Linked DNA regions of Homo sapiens: regions 2 and 3 are each linked to region 1. The links are contacts of gene promoters, found by promoter capture Hi-C in blood cells and fetal thymus (Javierre and others, 2016). All regions are on one chromosome and are shown on one strand. Each heading gives the region's core, a stretch centred on a gene start or on the middle of the fragment in contact. The rest is flanking DNA. Distances are from core to core; before and after follow the strand shown.

The links. The method cuts DNA at HindIII sites, captures the fragments that hold promoters and counts their contacts. A CHiCAGO score of 5 or more calls a contact.
Region 2: a contact is called between a fragment that was not itself captured here and the fragment with the promoter of CMTM4 in region 1, in 9 of 17 cell types (naive B cells, total B cells, activated CD4 T cells and 6 more). The highest score is 14.2, in naive B cells.
Region 3: a fragment that was not itself captured here is called in contact with the fragment with the promoter of CMTM4 in region 1 in 5 of 17 cell types (total B cells, naive B cells, activated CD4 T cells and 2 more); the score reaches 9.1 in total B cells.

Annotation. Positions count from the first base shown.
Region 1 is chr16:66,695,296-66,698,497 of GRCh38, reverse strand. CMTM4 (CKLF like MARVEL transmembrane domain containing 4) reads left to right here and starts at 1,755. Exons shown (of 4, transcript NM_181521.3): 1 at 1,755-2,158. The coding sequence starts at 1,973. RefSeq lists silencers at 1,113-1,192, 1,223-1,282, 1,523-1,862, 1,953-2,242 and an enhancer at 1,713-2,552. The HindIII fragment of the contact is 10,204 bases long and covers 1,109-3,202 here.
Region 2 is chr16:66,411,829-66,415,342 of GRCh38, reverse strand. No RefSeq gene overlaps it. Among named protein-coding and RNA genes, the nearest start is that of LINC00920, 5.1 kb to the right of the region's middle. The HindIII fragment of the contact is 2,051 bases long and covers 237-2,287 here.
Region 3 is chr16:66,392,558-66,395,914 of GRCh38, reverse strand. All of the region lies in intron 7 of CDH5 (cadherin 5), which reads right to left. Among named protein-coding and RNA genes, the nearest start is that of LINC00920, 14 kb to the left of the region's middle. The HindIII fragment of the contact is 9,921 bases long and covers 1-3,357 here.

The DNA.
Region 1 (3,202 bases), core at 506-3,005:
TACCACTGTACTCCAGCCTGGATGACAGAGTGAAAAGTCTATTTTAAAAACAAACAAAACAAAACAAAACAGAAAAACAGGTGGGGCACGGTGGCTCACATCTGTAATCCCAGCCCTTTGGGAGGCTGAGGTGGGTAGATCACTTGAGGCCAGTAGTTTGAGATCTGCCTGGCCAACATGGTGAAACCCTGTCTCTACTAAAAATGCCAAAATTAGCTGGGCGTGGTGGTCCCAGCTGCTCGGGAGGCTGAGGTGGGAGAATCGCTTGAGGTGGAGGTTGCTGTAAGCAGAGATCTCACCACAGCGCTCCAGCCTGGGTGATGAGCAAGACTCTGTCTCAGAAAACACACACACAAAAAACCCCCAAACAACACACACACGCACACACAAAAATATAGATAAAAAGTAATACAGTAGAACAATTATTTAAAGTATACGAGAAGATGTGTGTAGGTTATATGTAAATACTACACCATTTTATATAAAGGATTTGAGAGCATCTTCAGATTTTGGTATTTGAGGGGGTCCTGAAAACAAGCTCCCTCTCTTGCCCCCATACAGAAGGACAACAGTATTAGAGTCACTGTCCTTCCTATCTTTGAAAAAGTTGAGGGCTGGGCATGGTCAGTCACACCTGTAATCCCAGCAATTTGGGAGGCTGAGGCAGGAGGATCCCCTGAGCCCGGGAGTTCGAGATCAGCCTGGGCAACACAGTGAGGCCCTATCTCTACAAAAATAATGATGATGAAAATAATAAATAACTTTTTTTTAAAAAAAGAAAAAGTAGGAACCTGGGCTCTGCCCACCAATGAACTGTGTGACCTTGGACAAGCTACTTCCAGTCTGCAGCCTTAGTCTCTTCTTCTGTAAAATAGAAATAACAACGATACGTTCTTCAAGCGCCTTGCTCAGTGCCTAGAACATGGCAAGCTCTCGGTATTTGTGGTTGTGGAAGGGTTCAATATCAAAGCGACACTTCTTAGTCAGTGTTTTACTTAGCTTAAAATTAGCCTTCACACTTGAATTGTAAATTGGTCCCTAATTAATGCCCTTCGGGGCAAAATCTGTGTTTAACCTTACTTTATGCGTAGACAGAGCTAGCAAAGCTTTTCAGCTGAGAGGAGAGGAACATGTCAGTCGCCTGGGTCAGGCCGGCGGGGACAACCTGCAGTGGGGCGGCTCCTCACCCTGCCCCGCCCGCCCCTGGCCTCGGAACCGGTTTGTTCCAGGCGCCCAGCGTGAGAACACAGGCACTTACCCACCTCTCGTCGGCCCAATAGTCTGAGTCAAGCCCACCCTGGCCACGCACCGTTCCCGGCACCCGGGTGGCGCAGCCCGTCTCTGTCTTTACCGAGAAGCTCCCCACCCTATGCGTCGAGGACCCCACTTTCTTCAAAGGAGAACCTGAGGCAGCGTCTGGGAAAGCAACTCCATGGCCTCCAGGTCCACCTCGACCCTTTCCTCAGCCCCAAGACCCCGCTGCCTGAACCCCATCGCCCCGCGTGCCGGGATCGCCAGCGCCCACCAGCGGCTCCCGCCCCGGCTCTAGGCGCAGGTGGGGGCGGGGCCAGGGCGGGGCCTGAGGAGCCGGCGCCCCGCCTCGCCCCGCCCCTCCCCGAGGCCCGCGGCGCCGCCGCCTCCACCTCGCTCGAGCCGCGGAGCGCCTCCGAGCGGCCGGCTGCGGCCTGGCTCCGCCTCTCCCGGCCCGGCGCGCCCGCTCCCGCCTCCTTCCCTCTCCTGGCTCCCACCTCCCTCCCTTTCCGCTGCCGAGGCGGCGGGAGCCGAGCCCGAGCGGACCGAGCCGCAGCCGCAGCCGGGCGGCGGGCGAGAGGCGGCGGCGGCGGGCGGGCCGCGGGCAGTCAGTCGGGCGGCGGCGGCGGCGGCGGCGGCGGCGATGCGGCGGCCCCGCTGAGTCCGCCCGCTCCTGGCGCCGGGAGCCAGCCGCGCGAGGCGGCCCGGGCCGGGCGGCAGCATGCGGAGCGGCGAGGAGCTGGACGGCTTCGAGGGCGAGGCCTCGAGCACCTCCATGATCTCGGGCGCCAGCAGCCCGTACCAGCCCACCACCGAGCCGGTGAGCCAGCGCCGCGGGCTGGCCGGCCTGCGCTGCGACCCCGACTACCTGCGCGGCGCGCTCGGCCGCCTCAAGGTCGCCCAAGTGGTAGGTGCCGGGCGGGGCCCCAGGTGCCCGAGGGCGGCCTAGCCGCACGCCTCCCTCCCCGCCCCGCTGCGGGGCCTCCGCCGCGTACCCGCTTGCCCAGGCCGGAGCCCGCTCCTCGCGCCCCCTCTCCCTCGTGGGGTCCCGGGACCACTCTGCAGCCTTCTCTGGGGACCCCGCCTTCGGCCAGAGCCTGCCCTTCCCAGGCCGGCAGCCTCAGGTGTGCGCCTCCTACCTGAGCACCTGCCTTCGGGCCTACCTGTCCGCTCCGCCCTCGCTCCCGGGAGTCTGTGGCGTTACTGGGCTGGGTGCTGCTGGGAATCCTGCTGTCTCCTGGGTACAGCTGGTCTTAGCAACCTGTGGCAGGTTTTCCCGGCCCGCGCAACCTCCGGACGGTGCCTGTTTCTGCCTGCGGAGACGAGGGACTGTGGTTTGGTTCCCACTTGATGTCTAGCTGGGTGCCAGGCGTATATGGTAGGCGCTTAGTAAGTATTTGCTGGATGGAGGCAGGTAGCCCTGATGCAGTGGAGGAGCCCAGATATGCCCACAATTCTCTACACTGCAGAGGTTTGTGTCCTTCTAACCAAGAAGACAGACTTGGCATCCCGGAATCCACCGCCCAGCACGGTGGCTGGCACTGCCCAATTGGTACCCAGAGTTAAATCTGGGAGGGCAGCCAGTTTTGGAGGTAGCAGAAACAGAGAACTTTCTGTTGGACTTGTCTGTAGTAGAGCTCATTTCTCAGGGTCCTGTGTTTTAGCTTCCAGGGTGTTCTGGGCAGGGGCCTCTCAGCTCTGTTCCTGCTTTGTGGTTTTGTAACATGCCTCTGCGGGCAATTGCTTAGCTCTGTTGTGGGCATGCTCTAATTCAGAAAAACCCGTGTGTCCCCCCAACATTCTCTGTCACAGGTAGGCCTTCTGAGGCCACCGGCCTCAAAACTTTATAGACTTCTCATAGCCAGAGAAGCCACTTGTTCTTGTTCTCTCTCTCTCTCTTTTTTGAGACCGGGTCTCTGTCGCCCAGGGTGGAGTGCACTGGTGCGATCGT
Region 2 (3,514 bases), core at 13-2,512, 280 kb after region 1:
TAAGAGTGTTTCAGTCAGCTTAGGCTAAGTTATGTTGTGGTGACAAACAAACCCCAAATATTGGTAGCTTATGACAATGAAGGTTTATTTTTAGCTCATGTTATATGTTCATTGCTGGTGGCAGAGAGAAGAGAGATAGTAGAACCATACATTGGTTCTTAAAGTTTCTGCTCTGGGGTGGCATAAGTCTCTTCCACTTACATTTTATTTGACAGGATGAGTCACATGGCCAAGCTTGACGTCAGTGCATCAGGGATACCAATCCTCCCACAGAGAAGGGCAGTGAATATTTTGACCAATAACACACTCTACCATATGTCTGAGTAAAGGCTAATAACTCAGTCTGACTAGAATGTATGGCATGAGGGTGGCTACAAAAATAAAGAGATTAAGAAGTCAAGGAGAAGCTATATCATGTAGGGCCTTGGGTACCAGGCTAAAGAGTTTGGGTTCCATTGATTGTCAATGGAGAGCCACTGAAGATATGAAAAGTTCTGTTGAGTTTTGAGCAAGGGAGAGTAAGATCTTATTTATGCTTTAGAAAAATCATTTCAGTAGCTTCAGGAAAAGGCCTGGGGGTGGGGGGATTGAGGCTAGAAATAAGAAAACCAACTGAAAAGTTGTGGGAATACCATAGCAGAGTGAATGTTCAAACTAAGGTTGGAACAGTAGAGACGGAGAGGGCTTCTAGAGCTGTTAGGAACAGAATCAAGGGAATTTCATTAGTGCATTGTTCAACAGGTATTTTAGAAACAAAGAATGAATGAGACCAGGTGTGGTGGCTCATGCCTGTAATCCCAGCACTTTGGGAGACCAAGGCAGGTGGATCACTTGAGGCCAGGAGTTCGAGACTAGCCTGGCCAAACATGGTGAAACCCCGTCTCTATTAAAAATATAAAAATTAGCCAGTCATGGTGGTGCATGCCTGTAATTCCAGCTACTCAGGAGGCTGAGGCGCAAGAATCCCTTGAACCTGGGAGGTAGAGGCTGCAATGAGCCAAGATCACGCTACTGCACTCCAGCCTGGGTGATGGAGTGAGACTCTGTCTCAAAAAAAAAAAAAAAAAAAAGAATAAATGAATAAGTAACAGAGTGCCCCTGAACCTTGTACATCAATAAAGTGACCAATAAATTGATCCCTTATAAAATGAGACAGACCCTGATCAAATTTTTTTCATTATTTTCAAATTTTGTTGATGACTTTCAAAAGTTTACTTTTAATTTACATATGGTAATTTTTTTTTTGGAGTACAGTTTTATGATTTTGACAAATGCATGGACTTGTGTAACCACTACCACAATTAAGATATTCAACAGTTCCATCACCCTAAAAGTCTCTCTAATGCAGCTTCTCTTTGTTAGTCCAATCCTCCCTTCTCCCCAACTCTTGGAAACCCTGATATGTTCTCTGTTGCTACAGTTTTGCCTTTGCAGAATATTGTATAAATGGGATCACACAGTATGTAGTCTTTTGAGTCTAACTTCTTTCAAATGGCGTAATGCACTTGAGATTCACCCAAGTTGTTGCACGTATCAATGTTTCTTTCCTTTTTACTGCTCGATAATGTTTCATTTTATGGCCGTGCCAGAGCTGGTTTATTCACTTGTCTTAGTCCATTTGGGCTATATAACAAAATATCATAAACTGTGTGGTTTGTAAACAACAGAAATGTATTTATCTCAGTTCCAGGGGCTGGCAAATCTAAGATAAAGGCATCAGCAGATTTGGTAGATTGAGTGTCTGGTGAGGGTCCACTTATTGGTTCATAGACAGCACCTTCTAGCTATATCTGACATGGTGGATGGGGATCTTCTGGGGCCTCTTTTGTCAGGACACTGTGTTAGTCCATTCTTTTTTTTTTTTCTGAGGCGGAGTCTCACTCTGCCACCCAGGCTAGAGTGCAGTGGTGTGATCTCAGCTCACTGCAACCTCTGCTTCCTGGGTTCAAGCAATTCTCCTACCTCAGCCTACCGAGTAGCTGGGATTACAGGCGTGCACCACCATGCCTGCTAAGTTTTGTATTTTAGTAGAGATAGGGTCTCACCATGTTGGCCAGGCTGGTCTCGAACTCCTGGCCTCAAGTGATCCACCCACCTCCCAAACTGCTGGGATTACAGGCGTGAGCCACGGTGCTCGGCCTTTGTCCATTGTTGCATTGCTATAAAGAAATACTTGAGATTGAGTGATTTATAAAGAAAAGAGGTTTTATTGGCTCATAATTCTGCAGACTGTACAGGAAGCATGGTGCTGGCATCTCCTCGACTTCTGGGGAGACCTCAGGAAGCTTTTACTCATGGTGGAAGATAAAGCAGGAGAAGGCACATCACATGGCAAAATTGTGTGTGGGGGAATGCCACATACTTTTAAACAACCAGATCTCACATGAACTCAGAGTGAGAGCTCACTTATCACCAAGGGGATGTGCCAAGCCATTAATGAGGGATCCACCTCCATGACCAAACACCTCACACCAGGCCCCACTTCCAGCACTGGAGACTATATTTCAACATGAGATTTGGAAGAGTTACATATTCTAACCATATCAGGCACTGACCCCGTTCATGAGCGGTCTGACTTCATAATTTAATCCCACCCTAAAGTCCCCACTTCCAAATACCCATGCATTGGGGATTAGGTTTCAACTTACAAATTTTGGAAGGACAGAAACATTCAGACCATAGCACCCCTCACCAGTTGAGGGACATTTTGTTGTTTCTGGTTTTGGTGTTATAACTTTATAAGAAACTCCCAAACTGTTTTGTAAAGTGGTTTTACCATTTTGCATTCCCATTAGCAATGTATGAGTGCTCCAGTGGCTCTGCAGTTGGTATTGTCAGTTTTTTCCCCATTATAGTAGGTATGTAGTGGCATGTCATTGTGGTTTCAATGTGCATTTCCCTAATGAGTAATGATGCTGAGAATCTTATGCTTATTTGCCATCCATATATCTTCTTTATTTATGCTTATTTAACATCCATATAATCTTCTTTAGTGAAGTGTCTGTTCAAATATTTTGCCCATTTTTAACTTGGGTTGCTTATTTTCTTACTGTTGAGTTTGAGAGTACTTCCTATAGTCTGTATATCCTTTGTCAGGCATATGACAGTCCATGGCTTTTCTTTTTATTCTTATAATTTTAATTTTGCTCTTTTTAGAGCAAAAGTTTCTAGTTTTAATGAAATCCAACTTATAAATTTTTTCTTTTTATGAATTAAATTCTTGATGTCATCTCCAAGAACTCTGCCTAATTGTAGGTCACGAAGATTTTACCTATATTTTATTTTAAAAGTTTAAAAGTTTTTATGTTTTACATTTAGGTCTATGATTCTTTTTGAATTAATTTTTTGTATAAAATGAACATATAGGTCAAACATTTTTTTCCTGCATATGGATGTCTAATTGTTTCAGCATCATTTATTGAAAATTCTGTCCTTTCTCCATTGAATTATTTTTTCATCTTTGCCAAAATTCAATTGATCTTATTTGTGGATCTATTTCTGAACTCTTTATTAT
Region 3 (3,357 bases), core at 325-2,824, 300 kb after region 1:
AGACAAGAGTGGACCTACACAGAGGGATTCAGGATAGCAAGATAATGTCTTTGATCTTAGTTACATTGCCATCACTGGACTGGAGGTGGTACCTGAGACCATCAGATGCACTTTCAGAGCTGAACAGGTGACATCACACCATAGCTGGGACTTGTTTTAGTGATTAATGAAAAGATCATTGGGCAAGAGCCAGGAAGGAATACAAAAAGAGCTGGAAGAGATAAGAAGTAATTACAAAGAAATTAACTTTGTGAAATAAAAAACTTAAAAAGTTCTTTCAGAAATCAGGAAAAATCTATGGAAAGATAAATATATATGTTTTGTGTATATAGGAATAATAGTTGCTATTAATGAGGAAAATCCCAGAACAAACAGAACAGAAGAAATAACAAAAAAAAAAAAAAAAAAAAAGAAAAGAAAAGTTTCCTGATCTGAAGAAAGGCTTGAGTCTACACATTATAAGATGTCATTGACATCAGGCATCATTGAAAAAAACCCCAATACTTAGGCAAATCCTGACGACACTTACGAATTTCAAGGCTGTGTGAAGAAACTGAAAAGAGTCCAGACAGAAAGAAATAATTTCCTTATGAGGAAAGAAAAATCAGATTTGCCTCAGATGCCCCCACAAAATTAAATACTAGAATACATTGATAGTATTTTTGAAGGGAAGTGTTTATAATCTGAGGATTATACGAATACATCTAGGTGTTATTAGAAGGCAAGGTTGGGCATGGTGGCTCACATCTGTAATTTGAGTGCTTTGGGAGAGGCTGAAGCTGGAGGTTTGCTTGAGGCCAGGAGTTCAAGACCAGCCCAGCCCAGGTGACAGAGTGAGACCCTGTCTCACCAAAAAAAAAAAAAAAAAAAAAAAAAAAAAAAAAAAAAAAAAAAAAGATTAGCCTGGTGTGGTGGTGTGTGCCTGTAGTCCCAGATACTCAGAGGCTGAGGTGGGAGGGTTGCTTCAGCCTAGATGTTCAAGGCTGTAGTGAGCTATGGTTGTGCCACTGCACTCTAGCCTGGGTGACAGAGGAAGAACCTGTCCCCCCCACCCCCCAAAAAAGGCAAAGAACTAAGATATTTGTGTCCTGAATTTTTTTTTGAAAACTTACTGTATCTAACTAAACATCTCAATATAAAGTAAAAACCTGGCATGGGAAGAATTAAAACAAAACTATTGATTTTTTTTATCATACATAGAAAAGCAATGGGTGTGTGTATGTCTATAATAGTTTTAACTAGAAAATATAGGTCCAAGAAAACATTTTAAATTTTGCAGATAGAAGTAAATCTCACTGGTAGAAATAAAAATGGATGCACCTCATCCAAATATCTAGGAGAAAAAAAAAATAAAGAAACATAGACTGTATAGCAAAGATGAGGAAAAAGAAAAAAGCCATTAAATTTGATAAATGAGAAATGTAAAACAAGATAAAAGAAGGAACATCAAACATATCAATTATGATGAAAAATGTAAATAGGTTAAACACAAAGCATTTCAGTTTAGATTAAAAAGCAAAGCCAAATGCATTCTTGTTTTCAAGAGACAACTTAATGCCAAATGACCTGGAAAAATTAAAAGTAAAGGTTGTAAAATTTGCATTAGGCGTATATGAATAACATGAAAACAGGACTAACAAATGTAACATCAGGAAACAGAATTAAAGGCAAAATATTTAAGCAGAACAAATTGGCTAATTACATTTGGATGAAAGTTACAAACCATAATGAAGGTAAAATAGTTGCAAACCTTTGTTAACTGAATAGAAAAATTTAAATACATAAAGTCAAAACTTAGATATTCTAGGAAGAAGTGGACACAAATACAATTGTATCACATCACAGAACAAGCTAAAGCAAAACAAAAAAAACACCCTATGACTTATAAATGAAAATAAAGAAATCAAGTCAATCTCTTAAATAAACCCTTGGATCAAAGGAGAAACAAAAATTATAATTACAGGCTATTTAGAAAAGAATGGCAATGAAGAGTAGTCCCAAAACTTAGGATATGAGGCCAAAATGGAAGAACATATTTTGTCCTTAATAAGAAGACTTAATACCCTTGAAACATTAGCTATACCAAAATTAATATATAAACACTAGAATTCTAATGTTTAAAAAACCTGGATACAAAATTTTAAATTTCACAAAAGAAAAAATGAGAGTTGACAAAAAATTATATCAAATAAAAAAGCAACATGGGAAGGACTTTTATGTATATCTAAGATCTAGTGTAAAGCTATATGGTTTGGATCTGTGTCCCCACCGAATCTCATGTTGAAATGTAATCCCCAGTGTTGGAGGTGGGCCCTGGTGGGAGGTGGATAGACCATGGGACAGAGTTCTCATGAATGGGTTAGCTCCATCCCCTAGGTTCTGTTCTCAAGCTAGTGAGTTATCATGAGACCAGGTTGTTGAAAAGTGTGTAACAACTCCCTTCCCACTCCTGTTCTGGCCGTGTAAGACGTGCCTGCTTCCCCAGGACTGTAAGTTTTCTGAGGCCTCCCCAGAAGGAGAAGCCACTATACTTCCTGTTAAACCTCTTTTCTTTATAAATTACCCAGTCTTAACTATTTCTTTATAGGAGAATGGACTTATACAAGCTAGTAGAATAAAACAGAATAGCTTTGCTATAGAATGATGGATAGGACAGAGAATTAGAAGTAGATACAGGTATATACAGAAAACTTAGTATATAATGAAGGTGGGAAAACGATGACTTATTATTATAATATTTAGTAAATGGTGCTGGCAAAATCAGCTATGCATCTACAATAAAATAAGATTGAATTGAATTTATACTTACTATTGCATATTATATGGCTCTAAAAAGTATCTGTTGGAACTATATCATTTTTTTCTAAAGATTGTAAAAGAGAAATTTAGTTAAGATAGAAGAGCAAATATCGATGAAACCAGCATGGCATGATCCAAAAAAATTTTAAAACAATCAAACATCAAAAGCAAACAGACAACAACAAACCCACCATAAATGCATCCACATGTTTGTGTGGTCACGAAAAGAAAGGAGCAATAGGACCAGGTTAGGCCACGAACATGAGTTATCTGAGAGTGGGGGTTATCAGTGTTTTCTTGGTAGATCTCTGTGTTGTTTCACTGTATAAAATGAACACTTCTTACTTTTGTGGTTTGGGGAAGATAGATTCAAGAATACAGTTTTAGTGAAGGGGCCTCTGGTGTGTCGTCTGATTGGTTGCTTTCTTGACTGTCAGATCTTACCACATAGGACTGGTGAGAGCTGTGGTGCAGAGAATAAGCCTTCAAGGCCGGACAGAGGACAAGTAGCTCTGGATGCCCAGGACCATGCTAGGTGGGGGAGTCCAGGCAGGTCAA